3 separate regions of the Homo sapiens genome follow, and all the other regions are linked to region 3. The links are contacts of gene promoters, found by promoter capture Hi-C in blood cells and fetal thymus (Javierre and others, 2016). All regions are on one chromosome and are shown on one strand. The core of a region is centred on a gene start or on the middle of the fragment in contact, and the rest is flanking DNA. Distances in the headings are between cores, read along the strand shown. Region 1 overlaps HEATR4 (HEAT repeat containing 4). Region 2 holds the start of NUMB (NUMB endocytic adaptor protein). Region 3 holds the start of ZFYVE1 (zinc finger FYVE-type containing 1).

The links. The method cuts DNA at HindIII sites, captures the fragments that hold promoters and counts their contacts. A CHiCAGO score of 5 or more calls a contact.
Region 1: a fragment that was not itself captured here is called in contact with the fragment with the promoter of ZFYVE1 in region 3 in 2 of 17 cell types (neutrophils and total CD8 T cells); the score reaches 5.1 in neutrophils.
Region 2: a fragment that was not itself captured here is called in contact with the fragment with the promoter of ZFYVE1 in region 3 in 2 of 17 cell types (naive CD4 T cells and total CD8 T cells); the score reaches 6.1 in naive CD4 T cells.

Annotation. Positions count from the first base shown.
Region 1 is chr14:73,476,707-73,480,492 of GRCh38, reverse strand. It overlaps HEATR4 (HEAT repeat containing 4), which reads left to right. Exons shown (of 18, transcript NM_001220484.1): 18 at 1,651-2,009. The coding sequence ends at 1,887. Among named protein-coding and RNA genes, the nearest start is that of RIOX1, 12 kb to the left of the region's middle. The HindIII fragment of the contact is 5,334 bases long and covers 1-3,786 here.
Region 2 is chr14:73,457,216-73,461,028 of GRCh38, reverse strand. NUMB (NUMB endocytic adaptor protein) reads left to right here and starts at 2,483. Exons shown (of 13, transcript NM_001005743.2): 1 at 2,483-2,536. It overlaps LOC101928143 (a long non-coding RNA gene), which reads left to right. Exons shown (of 3, transcript NR_135251.1): 3 at 1-94. RefSeq lists enhancers at 1,087-1,620, 1,621-2,154 and silencers at 2,140-2,339, 2,530-2,619, 2,630-2,759. The HindIII fragment of the contact is 253 bases long and covers 2,037-2,289 here.
Region 3 is chr14:73,025,164-73,028,848 of GRCh38, reverse strand. ZFYVE1 (zinc finger FYVE-type containing 1) reads left to right here and starts at 1,743. Exons shown (of 12, transcript NM_021260.4): 1 at 1,743-1,923. RefSeq lists an enhancer at 1,401-1,600 and a silencer at 1,831-2,040. The HindIII fragment of the contact is 5,815 bases long and covers 1,047-3,685 here.

The DNA.
Region 1 (3,786 bases), core at 1,287-3,786, 450 kb before region 3:
ATTAAAATTAAAATAATATGGTCCATTATAATTGATTAATCTTTTTTTATTTTGAGACAAAGTCTCTCTCTGTCGCCCAGGCTAGAGTACAGTGGCGCAATCTTGGCTCACTGCAACCTCTGCCTCCTGGTTCAAGCGATTCTTCTGCCTCAGCCTCCCGAGTAGCTGAGATTACAGGCATCTGCGCCATGCCTGGCTAATTTTTGTATTTTTAGTAGAGATGGGGTTTCACCATGTTGGCCAGGCTGGTCTTGAACTCCCGACCTCAAGTGAGCTGCCTGCCTTGGCCTCCCAAAGTGCTGGGATCACAGGTGTGAGCCACCGTGCCCAGCCAATTATTCATTTTTTAAGAAATGAAAAACAAGATAAATAATACATTGGTTTTATTACTTAACTAGTAATAACGCCATATAATGTATAGCTGAAATTATAACTTATTAGTGAAGTAAAGAATATTATAAGAGATATTGTGTTCCTTCTACAAATGTGTGAGTGAACATATATCGAACTCTGGTGTTAGGCTTTTATTTTTATTTTTTAATGGGCAGCTTTTCAAGCCAGAGTAGGCTGAGAGAGACTACCCTGGTGTTAGGCTTTTGAGATTAATTAAAGAATAATCTCTGGGCATGGTGGCTCACGCCTGTAATCTCAGCACTTTGGGAGGCTGAGGCAGGCAGATCATGAGGTCAGGAGTTCAAGACCAGCCTGGCCAACATGGTGAAACCCTGTCTCTACTAAAAATACAAAAAAATTAGCTGGGCGTGGCCGGGAGCGGAGGCTCATGCCTGTAATCCCAGCACTTTGGGAGGCCGAGGCCGGCGGATCACCTGAGTTCGAGACCAGCCTGGCCAACATGGAGAAACGCTGTCTCTACTAAAAATACAAAATTAGTAGGGTGTGGTGGCGCATGCCTGTAATCCCAGCTACTTGGGAGGCTGAGGCAGGAGAATCCCTTGAACTCTGGGGGCAGAGGTTGCGGTGAGCCGAGATCGCACCATTGCACCCCAGCCTGGGCAACAAGAGCGAAACTCCGTCTCAAAAAAAAAAAAAAAAGAAAGAAAGAAAGAAAGAAAAAAAAACGCCGGGCGCAGTGGCTGACACCGTAATCCCAGCACTTTGGGAGGCCGAGGCGGGCTGGTCACAAGGTCAGGAGATTGAGACCCTCCTGGCTAACACGGTGAAACCTCGTCTCTACTAAAAATACAAAAAATTAGCTGGGCGTGGTGGTGGGCGCCTGTAGTCCCAGCTACTCGGGAGGCTGAGGCAGGAGAATGGCGTGAACCCGGGAGGCGGAGCTGGCAGTGAGCCGAGATGGCGCCACTGCACTCCAGCCTGGGAGAGAGTGTGAGACTCCGTCTCAAAAAAAACAAACAAACAAACAAAAAAATTAGCTGGGCGTGGTGGCGGGCGCCTGTAATCCCAGCTGCTTCAGAGGCTGAGGCAAGAGAATCACTTGAACCCGGGAGTCGGAGATTGCAGTAAGCCGAGATTGCGCCACTGAACTCCAGCCTGGGCGACAGAGTGGGACTCCGTCTCAAAAAGAAAAAAAAAAAGGAGACACCCTATAGCCAAAGAGGCCTTCACTTGGGCTCTGCCGCTCACATGAGACACGTTTGGCATATGCACTCATGTTTTCATGTTTCTCTGCAGCCTGTGAAGCCCCGCGCACCAAATCCCTGGTTACAAAGTTCAGTCCCAGGCCTAACCACACGAAGCAAAGTTCGTTCATCACTTGTCAAAGATCTACGCACCTCCCCCGAGAAAAGGATTGCTGTGGGACCATTTAGATCCGACTACCCAGCTCTTTATCTGGGTAAATTCTCAGAGAGAACATTTTTTTCTCCCATCATGTCTTCTCCCTCTGGAAAGAAAGGTGCTCATCTCTAAGCTGAACACTTGTCTTACTTCAAGATGCAGGAAGCAGTGGACCTGGTCACATTGGGTCTTTTTAATTGATACTGTACAATCTTGTTGTCACTATGTTTATAAAGAGAAATTATTTAACAGTAGACCTCATGTCTTAATGCGCACTATTTACATGGAAGGTTAAAGAAAATTGACATCACATTAGATGACAGAGCATATTTTTCCACGCCCCAGAAAGGTCATGTACTAAATATGGGTCAGAGTTCCAAATCTTTCTAAAGCAGTAATATTGAAGGATCCAGCATCTTTTCCAAACGGTACAAATTGCCCTCTGAAACTCAAATTAGGGCTGGGCACTGTGGCTTATGCCTATAATCCCAGCACTTTGAGAGGCCAAGGTGGGTGAATCACATGAGGCCAGGAGTTTGAAACCATCCTGGCTAACATGGTGAAACCTCGTCTCTACTAAAAATACAAAAAAATTAGCTGAGTGTGGTGGCACACACCTGTAATCCCAGCTACTAGGTGGGCTGAGGCAGGAGAATAGCTTGAACCCAGGGGGCAGAGTTTGCAGTGAGCCGAGATTGCGCCACAGCATTCCAGCCTGGATGACAGAATGAGACTGTCTCAAAAAATAATAAAATAAAATAAAACCCAAACTAGAATCCCATTTGTCTAGGAAAGAAACAGCTTAGGTGACTTTTTAAATCTACAAGTCTTGTCTTGTTCTAGATTAGGTTCTTTAACCACAGCCCACAGAGCAATGTGGAAGCCATGTCACGGGACTATTACAAAAAATCCAGGCCAGCGTAATCATTTCCCCCTTTGTACTATGTGGGTGGATGTGAATGCATCTCTACCCTTGGGAAACAACTCTGCAGTTTCACACGGCAGATTAGCAATTCTCATGAGCCTCAATGTACTTAATATTTGAAATACTCAAGCATCATAGAATAGCTGTAAACTGAATCTATATCATAAGATGAGATTCTGTAAGAGCACATGATACCCAAAAATTGCCATGGATGAGTAAAGACCCAGATTTCCAAGTAGTGTGAATCCAGCTTCCTTTCCTAAATACTGATTGCTATTTATACCCTAAAATGTTTGAGACATTCATTAATGAAAATAAAGACAACATGAACCTCTCCCCTTTTTTCTTCCCCTAATCACATCCTTTCTTCCCGTGGCTCTGTTATTGTCAAAAATATAAAAAGCAAGGCCGGGCATGGAGGCTCATGCCTGTAATCCCAGCACTTTGGGAGGCCGAGGCAGGCAGATCACCTGAGGTCAGGATTTCGAGACCAGCCTGGCCAACATAGTGAAACCCCGTCTCTACTAAAAATACAAAAATTAGCGGGGCATGGTGGCAGGCACCTGTAATCCCAGCTACTCCGGAGACTGAGGCAGGAGAATCATTTGAACCTGGGAGGCGGATGTTGCATTGAGCCGAGATCTCGCCACTGCACTCCAGCCTGAGCGACAGAGTAAGGCTCCACCATCTAAAAAAAAAAAAAAAAAAAAAAAAAAAATATATATATATATATATATATATATATATATATATATATATATATGGAGAGAGAGAGAGAGAGAGTGAGAGAGCGCACGCAATATTTTCTTCTATAAATTCCTGACTGCTATGAAACACGGTGGTGGGGGGGTCTTTGGGGATATGAGCTAACTTCGTAACAGAAACTCTTCCCTTTCCTTGACTCATGTAACCCATGGAATGTGTATTACTTTACACTTTCCCTTTAAGTGAAATACTAATCTAAAAAGCACTATCACATGGATCAAAGTTACTTCCGCATCTAACCTGAGGATTCTGGGATCTGGCTACTATGAGACATTCAAGACAATGAATAATTCTGTATGAGCACTTTCTCAGCCCCTCTATCTTTGAATTTGTCATTTCAT
Region 2 (3,813 bases), core at 914-3,413, 430 kb before region 3:
CTTCTAACTTGCTCTAAAATTGGTAGCATGGCACACTGCCAAGACTAGAGAGAAGCAAGCTGCTGGTGATATATTAAAAGGCTGTGTAAAAGGACATATTGGTATTTGCTTTTTCTTGGGGCATCTTCACATTTGCATTACTTCACATGTTATGGGATGTTAGCTCAGGCTTGCCTTATGTCTTGGCGTCTATCTTATCATGGTCAATGTCTGATCTTTCCTTCAGCTGAATGATTCAGACATCTCTAAGTTATTTTGGCTTTTCCACTTTCCTTTCACAGGCTTTTTGTGAGTCATTGAATTGAATGGGAGGTTATTTCTAAATTGGAAGGTGAGGAAGAGAGGAGGGGGAGGAAAGTTCCGGAAAATAACTAGGAAAAGGCACTTTATTGTTATGTATAGTTACTGGAGGAATAATTTCTGCTTAGTCTGGTGATAGAAGTATGTACTTTATTTAAACTTGACTAAAAATATAGGCTAGAAAAAAGACAATATTTTTCTGAATAATAAACCATACAGTTTTAGACTCTTTGTAGCTTGCTCTGCAAAGAACAAGGAGGTTAGTAAATAGAAGAAATATGAGACAAAGGGTTAGCAGAAAGAAGAAAGAGACAAAGCACATTTCCAAAGTCCACATCCTTGAGGTGAATGCCTCCTTGACAGTGTCTTTTTTTTTTTTTTTTTTTAAGACAGAGTCTCACTCTGTTGCCCAGGCTGGAGTGCAGTGGCACCATCTGCAGAGACAGGGGTTTCACCATGTTAGTCAGGCTGGTCTCAAACTCCTGACCTCAGGTGATCTGCCCGGCTCGGCCTCCCAGAGTGCTGGGATAACAGGCATGAGCCACCGCACGGCCTGACAGTGTCTTAAACTATCCCTGGGTGTTGTTTCATGGCCCATGGGTATATGTATCATAGGTGGGGTTGTGAGAAAGTACATTTAAATCTGATTTAGAAACTGAAAGAGTAATCAGACCAGCATTTTGTTATTTAGGAGCAGGAAAAGTGGGTGAAAAAAAAGGAAAAACAAAAAGCTAATGATGAATATATTTCTAGGAGCACAAGAGTTTTTATAGCAACATTAGATTTCTCAAAAATGCCTACTGTGATTTGTACCCAAGTGAATAAAAAATGCAATCATTTATTCTTGTGCATTGTGCCAAGTGAGGAAAAAAAAAAAACACACACACACACAACCCGGCAATTCATTCAATGGCCCTAATTTAGACTGCTAGGAAGAGGTTTAGAAAAAAAAAAGAGAGAGAGAGAGAGAAGCTTTTAAAGTATCTGACACACAGCTAGTAGGGCTATTTAAGAACTGCTGAACAGAAAAACAAAGTGGCAGTGAGAGGTGGGGGAAAGCAGAATTCTCATTTCCAGAGCATCATAAAGGGTATAATGTGGCCCGCTTATTAGAAAGTTGCTGGCCGGGCGCGGTGGCTTACGCCTGTAATACCAGCACTTTGGGAGGCCGAGGCGGGCGGATCACCTGAGGTTGGGAGTTCGAGACTAGCCTGACCAACATGGAGAAACCCCGTCTCATGCCTATAATCCCAGCTACTCGGGAGGCTAAGGCAGAAGAATCGCTTGAACCTGGGAGGCGTAGGTTGCGATGAGCCGAGATAGCACCATTGCACTCCAGCCTGGGCAACAAGAGAGAAACTCCGTCTCACAGAAAAAAAAAAAAAAAAAAAAAGTTGCTAATGGCTGTCTGGTCAATTGGCAGGGGTCAGCCAGGAGTGGATCTGGAAGCTGGAGAACTCTCAATACGCCACTTCAGTTTATTGACGACATTTATAATTGCAACCGAAGTTGACTGATTTCTGCTAAATGAAAGTTTGCGCTTTGCCCTTTAGCATTGAGGCTCCTGGAAAGAACTTCAATGAAATTGGATGCATTGAGACCAAAGAAAAGAAGGGGACATTTTTATCTCTCTGATACCTTTCTCCCCAGGGCTTGGAAACACTTCTTAAACACAACCTCTAATGTTGGTGTTTTGTAAGTACTACCCCTATGAATAAAGCTAGCAGAGATAAGCTTCTCCTTGCAGGAAGTGAGCTGGAGAAGTGGAAAAGTTTACAGAGAAAACTCTACAACAAAGACTTAACCCTTCCCGGGTAACCACGAATGTGAGCGTCTGCCCCTCCTTTGCTTTCTACTGCGCAACCAAACTGTGCACAAGCGTGAATCAACCTTAACCGTCACGTCTCTTGCCAGTTAGCTTAACAGACACTTTTAGCAGCCTATCATAACTTCGAATTGCCCAACCCTCAACCAATTACAACTAAAGCTTGGGCTAGGACGCTCCAGGTCCGGGCGGGGGCGAATACCGGGTTTAGGAAAAGGGGCGGTAAAGAGCGATGACGGGCGGGTATACTAAACCAATCAGAGAGGAGAGCTGCCGCCCCACTATCCAATGGATAGGTTAGAAGTATGAAAGAGGGTGGGCCTGTTGTCATGGGGGAGGTGGTGGCGCTTGGTGGCCACTGGCGGCCGAGGTAGAGGCAGTGGCGCTTGAGTTGGTCGGGGGCAGCGGCAGGTGAGTGCCGGTAACGCGGGTCAGAGATCTGGGGGCCGTCGCGGGGCGGAATCTCCAGCTCAGCACTCCGGAGGCGGAGGCCGGAGGAAGGGGGCCTGGACTTCGGGTCGGGGCCCGGGCCGGGGCCGGGGCCAGGGCGGAGGCGGCGGGGGCGGCGGCGAGTTCGCGCTGACTGGGCTAGGGGGAGAGGGGCTGGGCTTCTGGCTGCGGAGTTCTCCCGAGGAAGGTAGGCTACGGCCGGACCCGCGCGGGTCAGGCCAGGAGGTCCCTTGGGACGTCCAGCTGCTCCGGTCTAGCGCGCTGACCGGCGGCCACTGTGTGAGGAGTAGGTATCTGAGGAAACGGAAGCGGCCAGGGTCCCAGAGAGGGGGTGACCTGTAACGACCTGCTTCAAGGGCGGGGTGTCTTGGGAATACCCAGGACGGCTTGGGTGCCAGGGAGAAAAGGAATCCGGGAAGCCCGGCAGCGGCCGGTGAGGAGAGAGCGGGGTGGGGGGCAGGGGAACTGGGAGTGGCCCCGGTCCGAGGGAGGTAGGAAGGCCGAGGGTGGCCAGGGTCCCGGGTGACAGGGAGCAGACTTGCTCCAAGTAGGGGCGTCTGAGGAAACGCTCGGAGGGGGTTGGGGACCCTCCTGAGAAAAGCGGCTGTCCAAGGGAGGGGGCTCCTGGAGAGATGAGGAGCAGCAGGTCTTCGGAGGGTCGGACGAGTAGAGATCTTGCACCGCCTGGGGGAAGAACCGGAGCTCCCTGCGCCCCCATAGCTGAGCTGGGATGGGAGACCCAACTGGCCTGGCCGCTCCGGCTCTGAGGATCCCTAAGGGACCAGGAAAGAAGTCCTCGAGGAGTGGCTCGCGTTTGAGACCGGGGTGAGGAGCCAGCAGGGGAGTGGAAGTTCCCTCGGTCGGAGAGGAGTCATGCAAAATGGGACGGAGATGGGCGGAGGTGGGAGAGAATCCCTATAGGAGGGGATAAGGTAGAGAAAGAAAGTTGCCCGAGGAGAGAGTAATGGTTTCGTGGAACTGGCTAGGACAGTAGATATATGAGAAATTAACAGTGGAGCCATGTAGGTTCACAGGTCTTCACAAATAGAAGAAACTTCAGTTTCGTAATTAATATCAAGATGACATCTAGGACCAAAGCAAAGCTCCTAAAAGCAAGGTTAAGTGACTTGTTTTAGAAAAGAAATTTGTTTTAGGATGATGGCAGTAATATTAGGAAATAGGTTCATTGACAGGGTGGGGAATTTGGGAGGGAAAAGGGGAGGAGTAGCTGAACTAAA
Region 3 (3,685 bases), core at 494-2,993:
TAGTAGAGATGAGGTTTCACTATGTTGGCCATGCTGGTCTTGAACTCCTGAGCTCATGATCCGCTCTCCTTGGCCTCCCAAAGTGCTGGGATTACAGGCATGAGCCACCGTGCCTGGCCCTCAAAGATAATTTCAAATTGAGAAGTTCTGAAAGTATAATAGCTTTTTTTTTTTTTTTTTTTTGAGACAGAGTTTCCCTCTTGTTGCCCAGGCTGGAGTGCCATGGCGTGATCTCGGCTTACTGCAACCTCTGCCTCCCAGGTTCAAGCAATTCTCCTGCCTCAGCCTACCGAGTAGCTGGGATTACAGGCATGCATCATCACGCCCGGCTAATTTTGTATCTGTTAGTAGAGATGGAGTTTCTCCATGTTGGTCAGGCTGGTCTCGAACGCCCGACCTCAGGTGATCCGTCCACCTCGACCTCCCAAAGTGCTGGGATTACAGGCATGCGCTACCGCGCCCAGCCTGAGAAGTTCTGAAACTATAGAAGGAAAGATCAGAAAAATAATAGGTAGGAAAAAAAATTCATGGTTGGCTTGGAGAATACCCTTGAAGGGTGTTAAGTAAAAATGATAGGAGGCCTTTGTTTTGGACTAAACTCCTGCACCAGGCCCCAATAGACCTGGCTAAAATAAAAATGGAGTCACCCATGCTAAAGTTTCACCTCACCAAATCCAAACTAAGTTGTTACCAAACCCAAGCTAAGTTGTTATCTGACCTTCAGAGAAATCAGGAAAGAGGGATAAGGACAGCCAGTTTCCCAAACAGGCTTGTTTTAATGTTGCATGATAATGAAGCTCCCTCTGTTGTAATCCTTACACAAAAGAAGTAGCCTGAAGTAACTGATGTCAACTAATCAGTTATTTTTCTATTGTTCTGTCTCTCTGTCCTCACCTTCCAAGGAAAGTAGCTTAGAAGTGACCAATATGTCAAGGTCCCATGAGAAGACTGAAAAAAAGAGAAGAAAGAGGAAAGAAAAGAATGACAAGAAAGAGAAAGAAAGAAACCAATATGCTCTTTGTTCTTTGCTTTTGCTTCCTCAAGCTTTTCTCTGTCTACAAAGCCAACCTCTCCTGCTCAGCTCATCAGAACATTCACTCCACTTTCTGGAATGAAGTGTTGCCTGATCCTAGAGTCGCAATAAAGCCAACTGAGATCTTAAAACTAAATTCGTTGTAATTTTGTCCTTTGCCAAGGGGGGAAAAACAACAAAAACTTCCCAAGAGTACCTATATCCTCTTATCACTTTTTCTGGTCTTTTCCTTAGTTTTTGCGAAGTGAAATTGGGAAGGTGGAGACTGTCTGTGCTCACACGTTTCTGAGGGAATGGTGTGCAAGAGGTTACTTGAATCCAAATTAATTGACTCACCATTTCCCACTTATACTAGACATTATTACATCAGTTCTCTAATGTAGCACCATGCCTTCCCCAGTTACAACCCAAAAGAACGTGCTGAAACCTGCGGACACCACACTCAATGCAAAAACTCCAAGTCCCGAAATCCTCCGTAGCCTGTCCCCACCGCCTCCTCGCAAGAGCAGCCTCTTCAGTACTGGGAGTTGTAGTCATTCAGAGTCTTCCTTTCCGGGATGAGGGGCGAGAGCGCGCCTCGAGGAGCTACATCTCCCAGGAGGCAGTGCGCACTACGCCCTTGCTGGCGCCGGGATCCTCCCTCTCTCGCTCCTCCCTTTCTGGGCTGCACCGCTCACGCCTTCCTGTTAGTCCGAGCTGGGAGAAGTTCACTCCGATCAGCTGATCCCAACTGACAACAGGAGAGGAGGAAGCCCGGGAGGCAACGAAGGAGGAGGGTGGCGGAGATGGAGATGAGGATGGATCTGCCGGTGTCCTGAGGAATAGCCTCTGCCCCCACTGGCGCCCTGCGGCCCCCCGACGCCGCCTTGCTGCGGCCGAGCTTCTCAGTGGTGGGATCCCCGGGCCGCGGCGGGCAGGGCAGGGCGGGGAGGGCACGGCCCAGCGCGGGGCGAGTGATCGTCCTGGGGCTCAGGCTGCCCTCGGGAGGAAGGGGGGGCGGGTGCGGCGGGGGTGGGGGTGGGGTGGTATAAACAATGGATTCGGCTCCGGGTTTTGCCGGCGTGGGGGGGATTTTGGGGGACCTTCTTTGTTCTTAGGCTCCGCTCCTGCCCCTCGGGTTGTGGCGGTGGTGTCCGGGTGGAAGGAAGGGTGAGGAACCCCCGGCTGGGGAGAGGTGTCGAGGTGGGGGCCCGAGTGGGCAAAATGTTTGGTTGACATGGCCGGGCGTGAGGTGTACTTTTGAAGGTTGATTTTATATTTTTCTCAATTGTGACAAGTTTGATTTTTGTTTCTGTTTTGGGAGCTGGCTGGGCATGTCTGAGGTTAGATTGTAGTAAATAAGATCCCCTAGTCACTCCCTTCGCCTTCCTTGTTTATCTGAAAATAAGGTTGATAGATTGATTACTGTAGGGGAGGAGTGACTATCAGAAAGGCAGGGCTTTACACCTTGTCGGGGCCTTGGAATGCGGGTCAAGGCTAGGGGGAATTAGGAATATAATTGTCAAAGTGACAAAAGCCCCTTTCTTGCCCCAGTTATCTTTTTTCGTATTTTGAAGTTATTTTTAAGTTAGTTTTTAAGTGACAAAGAGAAAAATTATTTGTTTTGATTCACTGCAGGCCTGGCTTTGCCATGGGTCAAAGTAGAGGAATTGTCTCCTGTTGCTCCTTTTTTTTTTTTTTTTCAGTTAGTGAAAGAAGGGACAGAAGAATTACAGTGTAAAAAAATTGTTTTTAAAGATGAAATTGTTACTATTGTTTCTAAGTTTTGAGTCTTTAATATACATCTAGCTAGAGTTGAAACAATCCAGTTACAAGGCTAACCAGGTCGGCCCAGGTATTTGATAGATCTAAAGTTTATTATTACATTTTCATTAGCTTTGTGAAGGCCTCTCCACTCCTCCCAATTGTGGGATGCATGTGGGGGTGCAGAGGGCTGTCCTTCCAAGGACTACTCACTTAGTGATTTAGATTCTGAATTTAATATCTGAATGAACAGAAAATTCCAGTCTGGGAAATAGAGCAGCAAAGTCTCTTAAATGCCTTGGGCCTAGAGGTGGCGTTTGTTGTCAAGAGGAGGAGCTTTAGCCACAATTTTGAGATTTTTTTTTTTTTTTTTTTTTTTGAGGGAGTCTTGCCCTGTCTTCCAGGCTGGAGTGCAGTGGCAAGATCTTGGCTCACTGCAACCTCCGCCTCCTGGGTTCAAGTGATTCTCCTGCCTCAGCCTCCCTAGTAGCTTGGATTACACGTGCCTGCCACCATGCCCAGCTAATATTTGTATTTTTAGTAGAGATGGGATTTCACCATGTTGGACAGGGTAGTCTCGAACTCCTGACCTCAAGTGATCTGCCCACCTCGGCCTCCCAAAGTGATGGAATTACAGGTGTGAGCCACTGCGCCTGGCTATACAACAAGCCAGTGTAAGTGTTAAGATAGAAAATGAGATTTCTGGCCAGGTGCGGTGACTCACGCCTGTAATCCCAGCACTTTGGGAGGCCAAGGCGGGCAGATCACCTGGGGTCAAGAGTTCAAGACCAGCCTGGCCAACATGGTGAAACCCCGTCTCTACTAAAAATACAAAAATTAGCTGGGCATTGTGGCTAGCGCGTGTAATCCCAGCTCCTTGGGAGGCTGAGGCAGGAGAATCGCTTGAAC